Linked DNA regions of Homo sapiens: all the other regions are linked to region 4. The links are contacts of gene promoters, found by promoter capture Hi-C in blood cells and fetal thymus (Javierre and others, 2016). All regions are on one chromosome and are shown on one strand. Each heading gives the region's core, a stretch centred on a gene start or on the middle of the fragment in contact. The rest is flanking DNA. Distances are from core to core; before and after follow the strand shown. Region 1 overlaps ZNF143 (zinc finger protein 143). Region 2 overlaps NRIP3-DT (NRIP3 divergent transcript). Region 3 has its middle 2.6 kb from the start of ZNF143-AS1. Region 4 holds the start of DENND5A (DENN domain containing 5A). Region 5 overlaps IPO7 (importin 7).

Region 1 (2,700 bases), core at 38-2,537, 210 kb before region 4:
TGGAGAAGTAACATCACTTTCCTTAGCAATCAGAAAATTTAAAAAACATTAACAGGCCGGGTGCAGTGGCTCAAGCCTATAATCCCAGGACTCTGGGAGGCCGAGGCGGGCGGATCACGAGGTCAGGAGATTGAGACCATCCTGGCTAACACGGTGAAACACCCTCTCTACTAAAAATACAAAAAACTTAGCAGGGCACGGTGGCACGCGCCTGTATTCCCAGCTACTGGGGAGGCTGAGGCAGGAGACTCACTTGAACCTGGGAGGCAGAGGTTGCAGTGAGCCAAGATCGTGCCACTGCACTCCAGCCTGGGCGACAGAGCCAGAGTCCCTCTCAAAAAACAAACCAAAAACAAAAACAAACAAAGAAAAAACACTAACAATTAACAGTCAAAATCAATATGTAGAGAAATCAGGATTTGAACTCATGTCAGTATGACTCCACAGTCCCTCCATGGTGGTTTTTTCCCCTCTAAATGTCCACACTAAGATATATCTATATCTATACTGGTATTGATATAAAATAGTGATTTTATATCGATATATATATAGAGATAGTGAAATAATAAATCTAGCCAGTTACAATGAACCTGTGACTAACTCTTATTGATAAAGAAAAAAGTGCGGCCTTTTGTGGTGGCTCACGCCTGTAATCCCAACACTTTGGGAGGCCAAGCCAGGCGGATCACAAGGTCAAGAGATTGAGACCATCCTAGCCAACATGGTGAAATCCCATCTCTACTAAAAATACAAAAAAAATAGCTGGGCATGGTGGCGCGCACCTGTAGTCCCAGCTACTTGGGAGGCTGAAGCAGGAGAATCGCTTGAACCCAGGATGTGGAGGTTGCAGTGAGCCGAGATTGCACCACTGCACTCCAGCCTGGTGACAGAGCAAGACTCTGCTGAAAAGAAAAGAAAGAAAAGGAAGGAAGGGAAGGAAGGGAAGGAAGGGAAGGAAGGGAAGGAAGGGAAGGGAGGGAAAGGAGGGAAAGGAGGGAAGGGAGAGGAGGAAGGAAGGAAGGAAGGAAGGAAGGAAGGAAGGAAGGAAGGAAGGAAGGAAGGAAGGGGTGCAGACTTTACTTTTTTCCAACTGTAATTAAAGAAATTTATTTATAAATTTAAGTATTTTAAATTTTTTAAAGATTCCTCCCTTTGTTTGGGAGGCTGAGGAGGGCAGATCACAAGGTCAGGAGACCGAGACCATCCTGGCTAACACGGTGAAACCCCGCCTCTACTAAAAAAAATACAAAAAATTAGCCGGGCATGGTGGTGGGTGCCTGTAGTCCCAGCTACTCCGAAGGCTGAGGCAGGAGAATGGTGTGAACCCAGGAGGCGGAGCTTGCAGTGAGCCGAGATCGCACCACTGCACTCCAGACTGGGAGAGAGAGCGAGAGTCTGTCTCAAAAAAAAAAAAAAAAAAAAAAAAAAAAAAAGATTCCTCCCTTTGGCTTCACAACAAAACAGCCTTTCTAAAACGTGTTATGTCATTCTATAATAAAATGCTCTCTAGCTGGGTGCAGTGGCTCATGCCTGTAATCCCAGCACTTTGGGAGGCTGAAGTGGGCGGATCACCTGAGGTCAGGAGTTTGAGACCAGCCTGACCAACATGGTGAAACCCCATCTTTACTAAAACACAAAAATTAGCCGGGTGTAGTGGCGGGCACCTGTAATCTCAGCTACTTGGGAGGCTGAGGCAGGAGAATCGCTTGAAACCAGGAGGCGGAGGTTGCAGTGAGCCAAGATCGTGTCCCTGCACTCCAGCCTGGCAACAGAGCGAGACTGTCTCAAAATAATAAATTAATTAATTAATTAAAATAAAATATTCTCTAAAGTAGTAACAATAGGTAACATTTATTGAGCATTTAGTATGAGACAAGCACGGTTCTAAGTGCTTTACATGTTTGTGCATTCTGTCCTCACAACAACCCTACGTATGATATGGACACCTACTATAATCCTCATTTTACAGATGATGAAACTAAAGCACAGAAAAGTAATCTGCTTAATGTCACACAGCAAAAAAAAAGTAGCTTTGAATATACATAGTCTGGTTGCAGAGCTGTACTCATCATTCCTAGACATTCCACCTCAAACCCCTGAACTTCCCTTAAACAAATGTAATAAGCATTAACATTTTGCTGTATTTGCTTCAAATATTTTTGACATTGTATACTTAGTTTCAATTAAACATAGTAGGCAAAGGACCTTGCTTTAAAAATTTTATACACACACACACACACACACACACACACACACACACACACACACATATATATTTTTTTGAGACAGGGTCTCACTCTGTTGCCCAGGCTGGAGTGCAGTGGCACGATCTCAACTACACTGCAACCTCTACCTCCTGGGTTCAAGCGATTCTCCTGCCTCAGCCTCCCTAGTAGCCAGGATTGAAGGCATGCACTACCACAACTGGCTAATTTTTGTATTTTTTTGTATTTTTAGTAGAGACAGGGTTTTGCATGGCCAGGCTGGTCTCAAACCCCTGACCTCAGGTGATCCGCCTGCATCGGCCTCCCAAAGTGCTAGGATTACAGGCATGAGCCAACATGCCCAGGCAAAAAATTGCATTTAAGAGGAAGAAATAGGTTAGGCAAAGTGGTTCATGTCTGTGACCCCACTGCTTTGGGAGGTCGGAGCAGGAGGACTGCTTGAGGCCAGGAGTTCAGGACCAGCCTGAGCAACATA
Region 2 (2,700 bases), core at 64-2,563, 250 kb after region 4:
GTCAATGAAGACACTCACTGTGGCAAGGTGTGAATAATTTGCATGAAACCTGTGGTCATTGAAACAAAGCCCCTTTTTGAGACATGAGGACACAGGCCTGGCCAAGGTGGGTCTGACCACTGTGCAGCATGTGCCAGGGAGAGTACAGAACTCAAAGTGCAATGTGCTAACGGAGTGTAGACAGACTGAAAAGAGTGAATTTCATTTTTTTAAACATCATGAATGAGATAGGAAAAAAGCCAGTAATTATACAGCAGAGAAATCAGGCAATACCTTGACCAGATGATCAAAATTAGCATGTCCAATAAAGGACAGATGGATATCATGTGCCTACAGATGTGATAGCCTGAGAAGAACGTACCATCACCTATACTGTACTCAAGCCAAAAATGCATCACCTCAATCTCAATACAAGGAAAATGCAGACAAACACAAAATGAAGAATGCTCTATTTTAAAAAGGGGAGGGAAGTTGAAAAACAACTTGCACATCAGTGAAATTTTAAAGCTTGTGTGCTTCAAAAGACACTATTAAGAAGTGAAAAGGTAGCCCATGGAATGGTAGAAAATGTTTGTAAATCATATATCTGACAAGAGACTAATAGCTACAATATGTAAAGAGTTCTTACAAGTCAATAATAATGAGACAAATCACTCAATTAAAAATGGACAGAGGAGGCTGGGCATGTTGGCTCACACCTGTAATCCCAGCACTTTGGGAGGCCGAGGCAGGTGGATCATGAGATCAGGAGACTGAGACCATCCTGGCTAATACAGTGAAACCCTGTCTCTACTAAAAATACAAAAAATTAGCCAGGCGTGGTGGTGGGCACCTGTGGTCCCAGCTACTCGGGAGGTTGAGGCAGGAGAATGCCGTGAACCCAGGGGGCGGAGCTTGCAGTGAGCCGAGGTCACGCCACTGCACTCCAGCCTAGGCGACAGAGCGAGACTCTGTCTCAAAAAAAAAAAAAAAAAAAAAGAAGATGGACAGAGGATTTTAATAGACATGTTTCCAAAGAAGACAAACAAATGACCAATAAGCACCTGAAAAGATGCTTAACATCATTAGTCATCAGGGAAACACAAATCAGAACCATAATGAGATACCATCTCAACCTCACTAGCATGGCTATAATAAAAAAGACAGATGGTAAAAAGTGTTGAAGAGGATGTGAAGAAATTGGAACCCTCATACACTGCTGGTGGAGATGCAGAATGGTGCAGCTGCTTTGGAGAGTAGTCTGTTAATTCCTCAAAAGTCACACGGGCTACCATGTGACCCAGCAATTCTACTCCAGGAGATGAATAAAAGGCACAAAAAGATTTCCACATGAGATTTCTTAGCAACATTAGTCGTAATACCTTAAAAGTGGAAACAGCTTACATATCTATCAACTAATGTACAGCTAGACAAAATGTGGTAGATCCATACAATGGAATATTATTTGGCCATAGTTAAATACTGATAGATGCTACAGTATGGATGAATTTTGAAAACACTGTGCTACGTGAAAGAAGCCAGTCACAAAAGACCATGCATTATATGATTCCAGTTACATGAAATGTCCAGAATAGGCAAATTCATAGAGACAGGAAGTGGATTACAAGTTAGTTGTCTAGGGCTGGAGAAATTGGTAGGCAATGGGGAATGATTAATGGGTACCAAGTTTCTCTTGGGACGATGAAATGTTCTAGAAGTCATTGTGGTGATGGTTGCACAGCTCTCTGAATTTATTTAAAACTTGAATTGTACACATTAAGTACAATTGTATGAATTGGGTGAATTTTATGGTATGTGAATTATATCACACACAGAAACCAGTAACTAAAAAGGGTTAACTGGTTTTTGTGTTAACCAGTTAACCCTTTTTAATGACACTGACAGTTTTGAATTTTAACATTTTGAATGTCAAAAATGTCTGTGTCATGGAGGACAAAGAAAGCTGTGGAAATGTTCCAGATTAAAGGAGGCTAAAGAGACATGACAACCAAATACAATACCTGCTCCTAGCCTGGATCCTGTACTGGAGGAATGTGTTATAAATGGTCAACTGACAAAATTGGAACATGAATAGTAGCTTAGATAAAAGTATTGTATCAATGTAAATTTATCAAGCTTCTATCTGTATTGTGGTTACATAAGAGAAAAATCTCTATTTTTAGGAAATATACAATGAAGTATTAGTGGTACAGGATCATAATGTATGAGTAATCTATCCTAAAATCGTTCAGAAAAAAGTGTGTGTGTGTGCATGTGTGTGTGTGTGTGTTTTGCAGGGAAGCAAATGAAATTGAACATTTTTATGAGTCAAAGGAAGCCATCAAGAAAGTGAAAAGGCAACTCATAAAATGGGAGAAAAATTTTGCAAGTCATGTGTGACAAGAGACTTGTAGCTAGAATATATAAAGAACTCTCCATTTGTTTGTGTCCTCTCTTATTTCCTTGAGCAGTGGCTTGTAGTTCTCCTTGAAGAGGTCCTTGAAGAGGAAGAATCAATATTGTGAAAATGGCCATACTGCCCAAAGTAATTTATAGATTCAATGCTCTCCCCATCAAGCGACTATTGACTTTCTTCACAGAATTGGAAAAACTACTTTAAATTTCATACAGAACCAAAAAAGAGCCCACATAGCCAAGACAATCCTAAGCAAAAAGAACGAAGCTGGAGGCATCACACTACCTGACTTCAAACTATACTAC
Region 3 (2,700 bases), core at 61-2,560, 190 kb before region 4:
TGGCACGATCTCAGCTCACTGCAACCTCCGCCTCCCAGGTTCAAGCGATTTCTCCTGCCTCAACCTCCTGAGTAGCTGGGACTACAGGCGCCCACCATCACGCCCGGCTAATTTTTCTGTTTTTAGTAGAGACGGGGTTTCACCATGTTGGCCAGGCTGGTCTGAAACTCCTGACCGCGTAATCCGCCCACCTCAGCCTACCAAAGTACTGGGATTACAGGCGTGAGCCACCGCGCCCGGCCCGGATTACTTTTTAAGCCCTTAAAATAAAAGTGTCACATATAAAAAATGGATTAGGTGGCCGGGCGCGGAGGCTCACGCCTGTAATCCCAGCACTTTGGGAGGCCAAGGCGGGCAGATCATGAGGTCAGGAGATCGAGACCATCCTGGCTAACGCGGTGAAACCCCGTCTCTACTAAAAATACAAAAAATTTAGCAGGCGTGGTGGCGGGCGCCTGTAGTCCCAGCTACTCGGGAGAATGAGGCAGGAAAATGGCGTGAACCCGGGAGGCGGAGCTTGCAGTGAGCTGAGATTGCGCCACTGCACTCCAGGCTGGGCAACAGAGCAAGATTCCGTCTCAAAAAAAAAAAAAAAAAAAAAAAAAAAAGGATTAGGTTACTTTTAACTGGAGGATTTTGCTCAGTTAAAATCAGTCTCCTACCCAATGGATACATTCTCTGTTACAAAGAAGTAGCCCAGCTGAAAAACAAATGGTTTTAATTTATAATTTCTGTTCCCTCCACATGTATCTGTGTTTTGTAATTGGAGGTGTTTTTTAACCCATCAGAATATTTTTATGCAGTTCCACTAAGTCCCATGCCTGTAGGCTACTCATTAAAACACTATAATACAGAATCTCAAGAATTTTTAAATCGCCCTCTTATTGTAGATAACAATTACAGGACATCTTTGTATCCCCAGAAGCTACTGAGTTGTTCTAAAAATTGAATGGCGATGATGGTGGCGGTGGATAGGATGCTATAATTGTAACTGGATTCAGAGAGAAACCTAATTCTGATTTGTCACAGGTAATGGAACGTTGTGTTAACAGTATTTACCAGTGACTATAGAACAGAGTTCAAATGTACATATATTCAGAGCCATTCATAAGCTTAAAATGTTATCCCATTCATCTCCCTTCCCTTATATCGTGTTATATCCGGTCAAATTAATGGCTTGAAAATGTTTCCCTGTCAATCAGTACTAGTCCAGGCTCTTAAATGCAGAAATTAAATAATTTCCCCAACTTCCTAAACAAGAGGTAACTTATTTGTAGCCCCCTTCAAAAACTGTTAAGATAATATTTTCTAAAACACTTCTTTCAGTAACTTAAAACTTACTGGAGAATTGGTTGGTTTTGGCATATTTATACCATGCTATAAGCATTAAAGTAGTATATATGTATACTATATATATATAGAAATTATATATGATATATATGTATACTATATATATAGAAATTATATATGATATATATAGAAAAAAGATAAACGATGAGTTAAGCTTAAAAGCAATTATTTCAGGCCGGGCGCGGTGGCTCACACCTGCAATCCTAGCACTTTGGGAAGCCGAGGCAGGCGGATCACGAGGTCAGGAGTTCGAGCCATGGTGAAACCCCGTCTCTACTAAAAATACAAAAATTAGCCCGGCGTGGTGGTGGGCGCCTGTAATCCCAGCTACTCAGCAGGCTGAGGCAGGAGAATGGCTTGAACCCCGGAGGCGGAGGTTGCAGTGAGCCAGGGTCACACCACTCCACTCCAGCCTGGGTGACAGAGTGAGAATCCATCTAAAAAAAAAAAAAGGCCGGGTGCGGTGGTTCACACCTGTAATCCCAGCACTTTGGGAGGCCGAGGAGGGTGGACCACCTGAAGTCAGGAGTTCGAGACCAACCAGGCCAACATGGCGAAATCGCATCTCTACTAAAAGTACAAAAATTAGGCTGGGCACGGTGGCTCACACTTGTAATCCCACCACTTTGGGAGGACGAGGCGGGCGGATCACAAGGTCAGGAGATCAAGACTATCCTGGCTAACACGGTGAAAACCCGTCTCTACTAAAAATACAAAAAATTGGCCGGGCACAGTGGCTCACGCCTGTAATCCCAGCACTTTGGGAGGCGGAAGTGGGCAGATCGCCTGAGGTCGGGAGTTTGAGACCAGCCTAGCCAGCATGGTGAAACGCCGTCTCTACTAAAAATGCAAAAATTAGCCGGGCATGGTGGCAGGTGCCTGTAATCCCAGCTACTTGGGAAGCTGAGGCAGGAGAATCGCTTGAACCCGGGAGGCGGAGGTTGCAGTGAGCCGAGATCGTGCCGTTGCACTCCAGCCTGGGCAACAGAGCAAGACTTTGTCCCAAAAAAGCAAACAAAAAGATAAATAAATAATAAAAATACAAAAAATTATCTGGGCGTGGTGGCATGCGCCTACAGTCCCAGCTACTCAGGAGGCTGAGGCAGGAGAATCCCTTGAACCTGGAAGGCAGAGGTTGCAGTGAGCCGAGATCGCACCACTGCACTCCCGCCTGGGTGACAGAGCGAGCCTCCATCTCAAAAAAGCAAAAAACAAAAATTAGCCGGCCATAGTGGTGGGTGCCTGTAATCCCAACTGCTCGGGAGGCTGAGTCAGGATAATAGCTTGATCCTGCGGGGCGGAGGTTGCCATGAGCCAAAATCGTGCCACTTCACTCCAGGTTGGGCGCAA
Region 4 (2,700 bases), core at 104-2,603:
CATGCCTGTAATCCCAGCACTTTAGGAGGCAGAGGAGGGCGGATCACCTGAGGTCAGGAGTTCGAGACCAGCCTGACCAACACGGTGAATCCCTGTCTCTACTGAATACAAAAAATTAGCCGAGTGTGGTGGTGCGCGCCTGTAATCCTAGCTACTTGGGTGGCTGAGGCAGGAGAATCACTTGAACCTGGGAGGCAGAGGTGCAGTGAGCCGAGATTACGCCATTGCACTCCAGCCTGGGCAACAAGACAGAACTCCGTCTTGAAAAAAAAAATCTGTAATATTTACTGAGTGATTTCCATGTTCCAGGCAGTATTCTCATTGTTTTACCTGTACTTGCATTTACCTTATGTAATTGTCTCAAAAACCATGACGCCAGGCACTTAGAGATTAACTTGCTCAAGGTCAAAAGTAAATGATCGTCAGGATTGAAATCCGAGCATTTTTTTCTAGAGCCCATGCTAGTGACCACTATACCTGTGTTGCCTTTCTGGCCTCTGATCTCCAGTTTCCAACAAAGACACATCTGCCTAGCTTCTATGGGAAAGGAAATCGGAGGGTCCTAGGACAAGGACCAATAGGTAAGTTTCCCTTCGCCTCCTCCCTATCCTCTTACAGGAAAACAGGTTTAGGGGTGGATCTGAGAGTTTTCACAGAGTGAAGAGGAAGAGGAGCTCCCAAATGGCAGGCGCCTCTGGAGGCTTCCAGAGAAAAAAGGAGAGAGCGTGGGAAAAGGGCAGGCTGGGAGGTGGGAGCGGCGAGGAACGGGGAGCTGACCACAAGCCCAGGATTCCAGACCAGGCTTATGTCTCTTAGACTCAGCGTAACCTTGGATAAGTCCTTGCTTCTTTCTGAGACTCAGTTTCCCCGTCTGTAAAATAAGGGTAAATATAAAACCGGCTCATCCGCCCCTGCCAAAAGAGAGGACAGGGAGAAGGCCCTGTCTGGGGTCTAGGCTGACACGCTGCAGCTAGGATTAGGTGAGCTTCCGAGCTCAGTCGTGAGACCCCATCCTCATGGCAAGGCCGCGCTAAGATCTCTGGACCTCTGCTTGCTGGGTGGGTGGTTGGGGGCAGAGCATGGGCCAAATGCCCGGCTCTGCAGGCTGCGCCCACTCTTCTCGCACCTCCTCAGCCCTCCCTAAAGGAGTCTCAATCCCGGGGGAGTGGCAGTTGCGGGCGACCAAGCAGTCACCGGCTGCGCTGCGGCGACCTCCCGGGAAGCTGCGGCCGGCGGGGTCCGAAGAGCATCACGTCATCCTTTCCCCCAGGAGCCCGCCCCCTCCCAGACGGCGCCTGCGCAGGCGCGGTAGGAGGAGGGTCACGGTGGGGGCTGTCCACGCGCTCTCCGCCCTTCTCCAGGCTCGCTCGGGCCGCGGCGCTCTCGGCTAGCTGCAGCGGCGGCGGCGCGGAGGGGAAGGCATCCAGGATGCGGTGCGGGGCGGCCCGGTGCCCCCCCGCCCCGTCACGGCAGCCGCGGCGGCCGAGGGGACCGGGCCAGGGCCGGGGGCGGCGGCCCGAGCCGCGGTAGCGGCGGCGGCGGGAGGGGCGGCCTGAGGGCGGACGGGCGGGCGCCCGGGTTGCGGGGGCTCGGTGCCGCTCCGCACTGCCCGGCCGGTCTCGGCCCCGGCGCCATGAGTGGCGGCGGCGGCGGAGGGGGCTCGGCGCCCAGTCGCTTCGCCGACTACTTTGTCATCTGCGGACTGGACACGGAGACCGGGCTGGAGCCGGACGAGCTGTCGGGTGAGTGCGCGCCGAGCCCGGGGCGCTTTCCCGCGCCCGCTGTCGTCGGGGACCCCAGAAGAAACCTTCCTTCAGCCCCGCTTTGTCCCGGGAGCCGGGCGAGTGTCGGCCGGGAGGACCAGGGCGGGCGCGGGCGAAGGGGGCTTTGGACTGGAGGGGGGAAACGGATGAGGGGCTCTGAGCCATGAGGGGTCCAAACCTACGGCCCGCTGCGCAGTGGCCACGTCTTCGGCGACCAGAAAGAGGGAGGGTTGTGTGTTCTCAGTTTGGTGTAGGTTGAGTGACTTCGTTTAAAATAAAGGAAAGCTTGTCCTCTGGCACCCATTAGGGAGGGAAGGCGTCCCACGTCCTAGTGAAAGTAAGTTCCACCCAGACTTAAAAAAAAGGAAAACAAAAACTTGGTGAGTTTATCTGGCCACTTCCCAAGAAGCTTGTGATACTAGTTCCTCAAAACCGTTATACCCCAGCCCTGGGCTGGGCCCCCTGAGTCAGATTGCAGCTCTGCGCGTCTGGATGGGATATGAAGTAATAAAGTGAACTTGGGCGGCACCAAGAAGAGTAGGAACTCCCTTAGCCTTGGAAAGGGCTTGTATCCCGGGGCCATGCCTTTTTTGAAAAGTAATTTATGTCCTTTATGAGGACAGAGGCGTTTGTGAATAAAAGGGTAGCAGCATTGTAGTTGGAGAGGCTTGGTGTGTTCTGATGCGTTTCAAGTCATATTTGAAAGGGAAAGTGATGAGGGGAGTCAAAGATGGGGCCCTGACCAGATTTGGCACTCACTGCAGAAGGCCGTGAAAATTATACAGTCCCCGTGAATTTTCCACTGCACTGTCATTGGAGTCTTTGAATTGTAACAGTTTTGAAAATAAGTTTTTGTCTGGAGTTTCCAGTTAGTGGGTTTCAAGTGGGTGGAGGTTTGTCGGGTTGTACTTTAAGGTTGTGTCATCCTGATGAGGGG
Region 5 (2,700 bases), core at 130-2,629, 160 kb before region 4:
TCTAACAACTCAATTATAAAAAGACAAATAACCCAATTAAAAATGGGCAAGGGCCAGGCACAGTGGCTCACGCCTGTAATCCTGGCACTTTGGGAGGCTGAGGCAGGCGGATCACCTGAAGCCAGGAGTTTGAGACCAGCCTGGCCAACATGGCAAAACCCCATCTCTACTAAAAATACAAAAATTAGGCTGGGGGCAGGCACCTGAGGCATGAGAATCACTTGAACCCGGAAGGTAGAGGTTGCAGTGAGTCGAGATTGCGCCACTGCACTCCAGCATATGGCGGGGGGGCGGGGAGGCGGAAATCTCAGCTACTTGGGAGGCTGAGGCAGGAGAATCACTTTAATGTGGGAGACTGGTGGCTGCAGCGAGCCAAGATCTCACCACTGCACTCCAGCCTGGGTGACAGAGCAAGACTCCATCTCAAAAAATAAAAAGAAAAAAAACAAAGGCAAGCAATTTTTTTGGGGCAAGGAATTTGAATAGATATTCTCTAAAGAAAATATACAAACGGATAGTAAGCACATGAAAAATTTCAAAGCCACAAAGACATAATGCTTCACGTTCACTAGGATGGCTATAATCAAAATATACTGCTGGCAGAAATATAAAATGGTATAGCTACGTTGGAAAATGGGTTCTGCGGTGTCTCAAATTATGACAAGCAATTCATACTCCTAGGTATATACCCATGAAAAATGAAAACGTATGTCCACATAAAAATTTAAACATGAATGTTCACAGCAACATTTGTAAGCAGCCAGAAAGTAGAAACAACTAATGAATGAGTAAATAAAATGTGGTATATTAATATAATGAAATATAATTTGGCAACAAAAAGGAAAAAGTACTGAAACCTGCTATAACACAGATAATCCTTGAAAACATTACACTAAATGAAAGAAGTCACCCACAAAGAGCTACGTATTATATGATTCCATTTATATAAAATGTCCACAATAAACAAATCCATAGAAAAAATGTGGACTATAGGTAGCCTAGGGTTGGGAGATTTGGGGTGATATGTGGAGTGACTGCTAATGTATACAGAGTTCCTTCTGGGGGTGATAGTTATACAACTGTGAATAAACTAAAAACCACTGAGTTGTACACTCCATAAGGTTGTTATTTTTTATTTTTTTATTTTTTTTTGAGACGGAGTCTCTGTCGCCTGGACTGGAGCATGGAGTGCAGTGGCATGACCTCGGCTCACTGCAGCCTCCGCCTCCCAAGTTCAAGTGATTCTCCTGCCTCAGCCTCCTAAGTAGCTGGGATTACAGGTGCCCACCACCATGCCCAGCTGATTTTTTTTTTTTTTTTTGGAGACAGAGTCTCACTCTGTCGCCCAGGCTGGATTGCAGTGGCGTGATCTCGGCTCACTGCAAACTCCACGTCCCGGGTTCAAGCCATTCTCCTGCCTCAGCCTCCTGAGTAGCTGGGACTACAGGCGCCAGCCACCATGCCCGGCTAATTTTTTATTTTTATTTTTAGTAGAGACGGGGTTTCACTGTGTTAGCCAGGATGGTCTCGATCTCCTGACCTCATGATCCACCCACCTCGGTCTCCCAAAATGCTGGGATTACAGGCGTGAGCCATCACGCCCGGCGGATTTTTGTATTTTTAGTAGAGACGGGGTTTCACCATGTTGGCCAGGCTGGTCTTCAACTGCTGACCTCAGGTGATCCCCCCGCCCTGGCCTCCCAAATAGCTGGGATTACAGGCATAAGCCACCACACCCGGCCTATTTTTTATCCTTATAGAGATGGGGGTATCACTATGTTGCCCAGGCTGTTCTCAAACTCCTGGGCTCAGGCAATCTGCCTGCCTCAGCATCCCGAAAGTGCTGGGATTATAGAAGTGAGCCACTGTGCCTGGCTGGCTATTTATTTTTTAAAACTACTTGCATAGTCATGCACATACAAACACACTAAAGAATACCTTCAGAAGTATTTCAGCTAAAGAGCCAATCATATGCAGGGCTCCATCTTTTTTTCGAGGGTCAGCATTTGGTTCTGTAAGAATCTGGTAACAAAATCCCATAGTCTTTTGCAGTACCTAGATTAAAAGAGAAAAGTATTGTTACTGAATAGGCCAACAGTCCTTAAAAAACATACTAACAAAATGACTCACATGACTAACATTTAAAAAGTGTATAGTTGAATAAATTTTAAATAATACAGAAAAGTTATCTAAACATTAAATAAGCCTACCTCTTTCCTCTTACTACAGGCTGTAAACAAAAGTGTCTGGGCAGCAGTGGTAGGAGAAATGAAATCTTCAAACACATCTAGAGAACAAGTTTAAAATTAAGACAATAAACATTAATTTCTTCAACAAAGCATTAAAAAACATGCTTAATCTTTACATAAGGTATGAAAATGATCCCAGATCCCTTTATAATTTTGCAAAAGCAGAATTCAATGTCTTTTCTGTACAAATTGAATGCTTTTGTTTGTTTTGAGATGGAGTCTCGCTCTGTCACTCAGGCTGGAGTGCAGTGGGCGATCTCGGCTCATTGTAACCTCCATCTCCCAGGTTCAAGCAATTCTCCTGCCTCAGCCTCCCAAGTAGCTGGTTTACAGGTGCCTGCCACCACGCCCGGCTAATTTTTGTATTTTTAGTAGAGATGGGGTTTCACTATATTGGTCAGGCTGGTCTCAAACTCCTGACCTCAAACGATCTGCCTGCCTCGGCCTCCCA

Evidence for each region. The method cuts DNA at HindIII sites, captures the fragments that hold promoters and counts their contacts. A CHiCAGO score of 5 or more calls a contact.
Region 1: a contact is called between a fragment that was not itself captured here and the fragment with the promoter of DENND5A in region 4, in 6 of 17 cell types (megakaryocytes, naive CD4 T cells, M2 macrophages and 3 more). The highest score is 7.8, in megakaryocytes.
Region 2: a contact is called between a fragment that was not itself captured here and the fragment with the promoter of DENND5A in region 4, in 1 of 17 cell types (endothelial precursors). The highest score is 5.4, in endothelial precursors.
Region 3: a fragment that was not itself captured here is called in contact with the fragment with the promoter of DENND5A in region 4 in 7 of 17 cell types (megakaryocytes, M2 macrophages, activated CD4 T cells and 4 more); the score reaches 7.3 in megakaryocytes.
Region 5: a contact is called between a fragment that was not itself captured here and the fragment with the promoter of DENND5A in region 4, in 4 of 17 cell types (megakaryocytes, M2 macrophages, activated CD4 T cells and 1 more). The highest score is 7.5, in megakaryocytes.

Annotation. Positions count from the first base shown.
Region 1 is chr11:9,475,480-9,478,179 of GRCh38, reverse strand. All of the region lies in intron 5 of ZNF143 (zinc finger protein 143), which reads right to left. Among named protein-coding and RNA genes, the nearest start is that of ZNF143, 16 kb to the right of the region's middle. The HindIII fragment of the contact is 4,989 bases long and covers 1-2,700 here.
Region 2 is chr11:9,010,796-9,013,495 of GRCh38, reverse strand. All of the region lies in intron 1 of NRIP3-DT (NRIP3 divergent transcript), which reads right to left. Among named protein-coding and RNA genes, the nearest start is that of NRIP3-DT, 8.1 kb to the right of the region's middle. The HindIII fragment of the contact is 1,608 bases long and covers 510-2,117 here.
Region 3 is chr11:9,456,779-9,459,478 of GRCh38, reverse strand. No RefSeq gene overlaps it. Among named protein-coding and RNA genes, the nearest start is that of ZNF143-AS1, 2.6 kb to the left of the region's middle. RefSeq lists an enhancer at 1-98. The HindIII fragment of the contact is 392 bases long and covers 1,115-1,506 here.
Region 4 is chr11:9,264,003-9,266,702 of GRCh38, reverse strand. DENND5A (DENN domain containing 5A) reads left to right here and starts at 1,353. Exons shown (of 23, transcript NM_015213.4): 1 at 1,353-1,742. The coding sequence starts at 1,634. RefSeq lists enhancers at 1,052-1,121, 2,202-2,321, 2,482-2,700 and silencers at 1,402-1,501, 1,552-1,911. The HindIII fragment of the contact is 8,855 bases long and covers 1-2,050 here.
Region 5 is chr11:9,424,501-9,427,200 of GRCh38, reverse strand. IPO7 (importin 7) reads right to left here. Exons shown (of 25, transcript NM_006391.3): 11 at 2,211-2,287; 12 at 1,939-2,055. Among named protein-coding and RNA genes, the nearest start is that of SNORA23, 2.9 kb to the left of the region's middle. The HindIII fragment of the contact is 4,305 bases long and covers 1-2,700 here.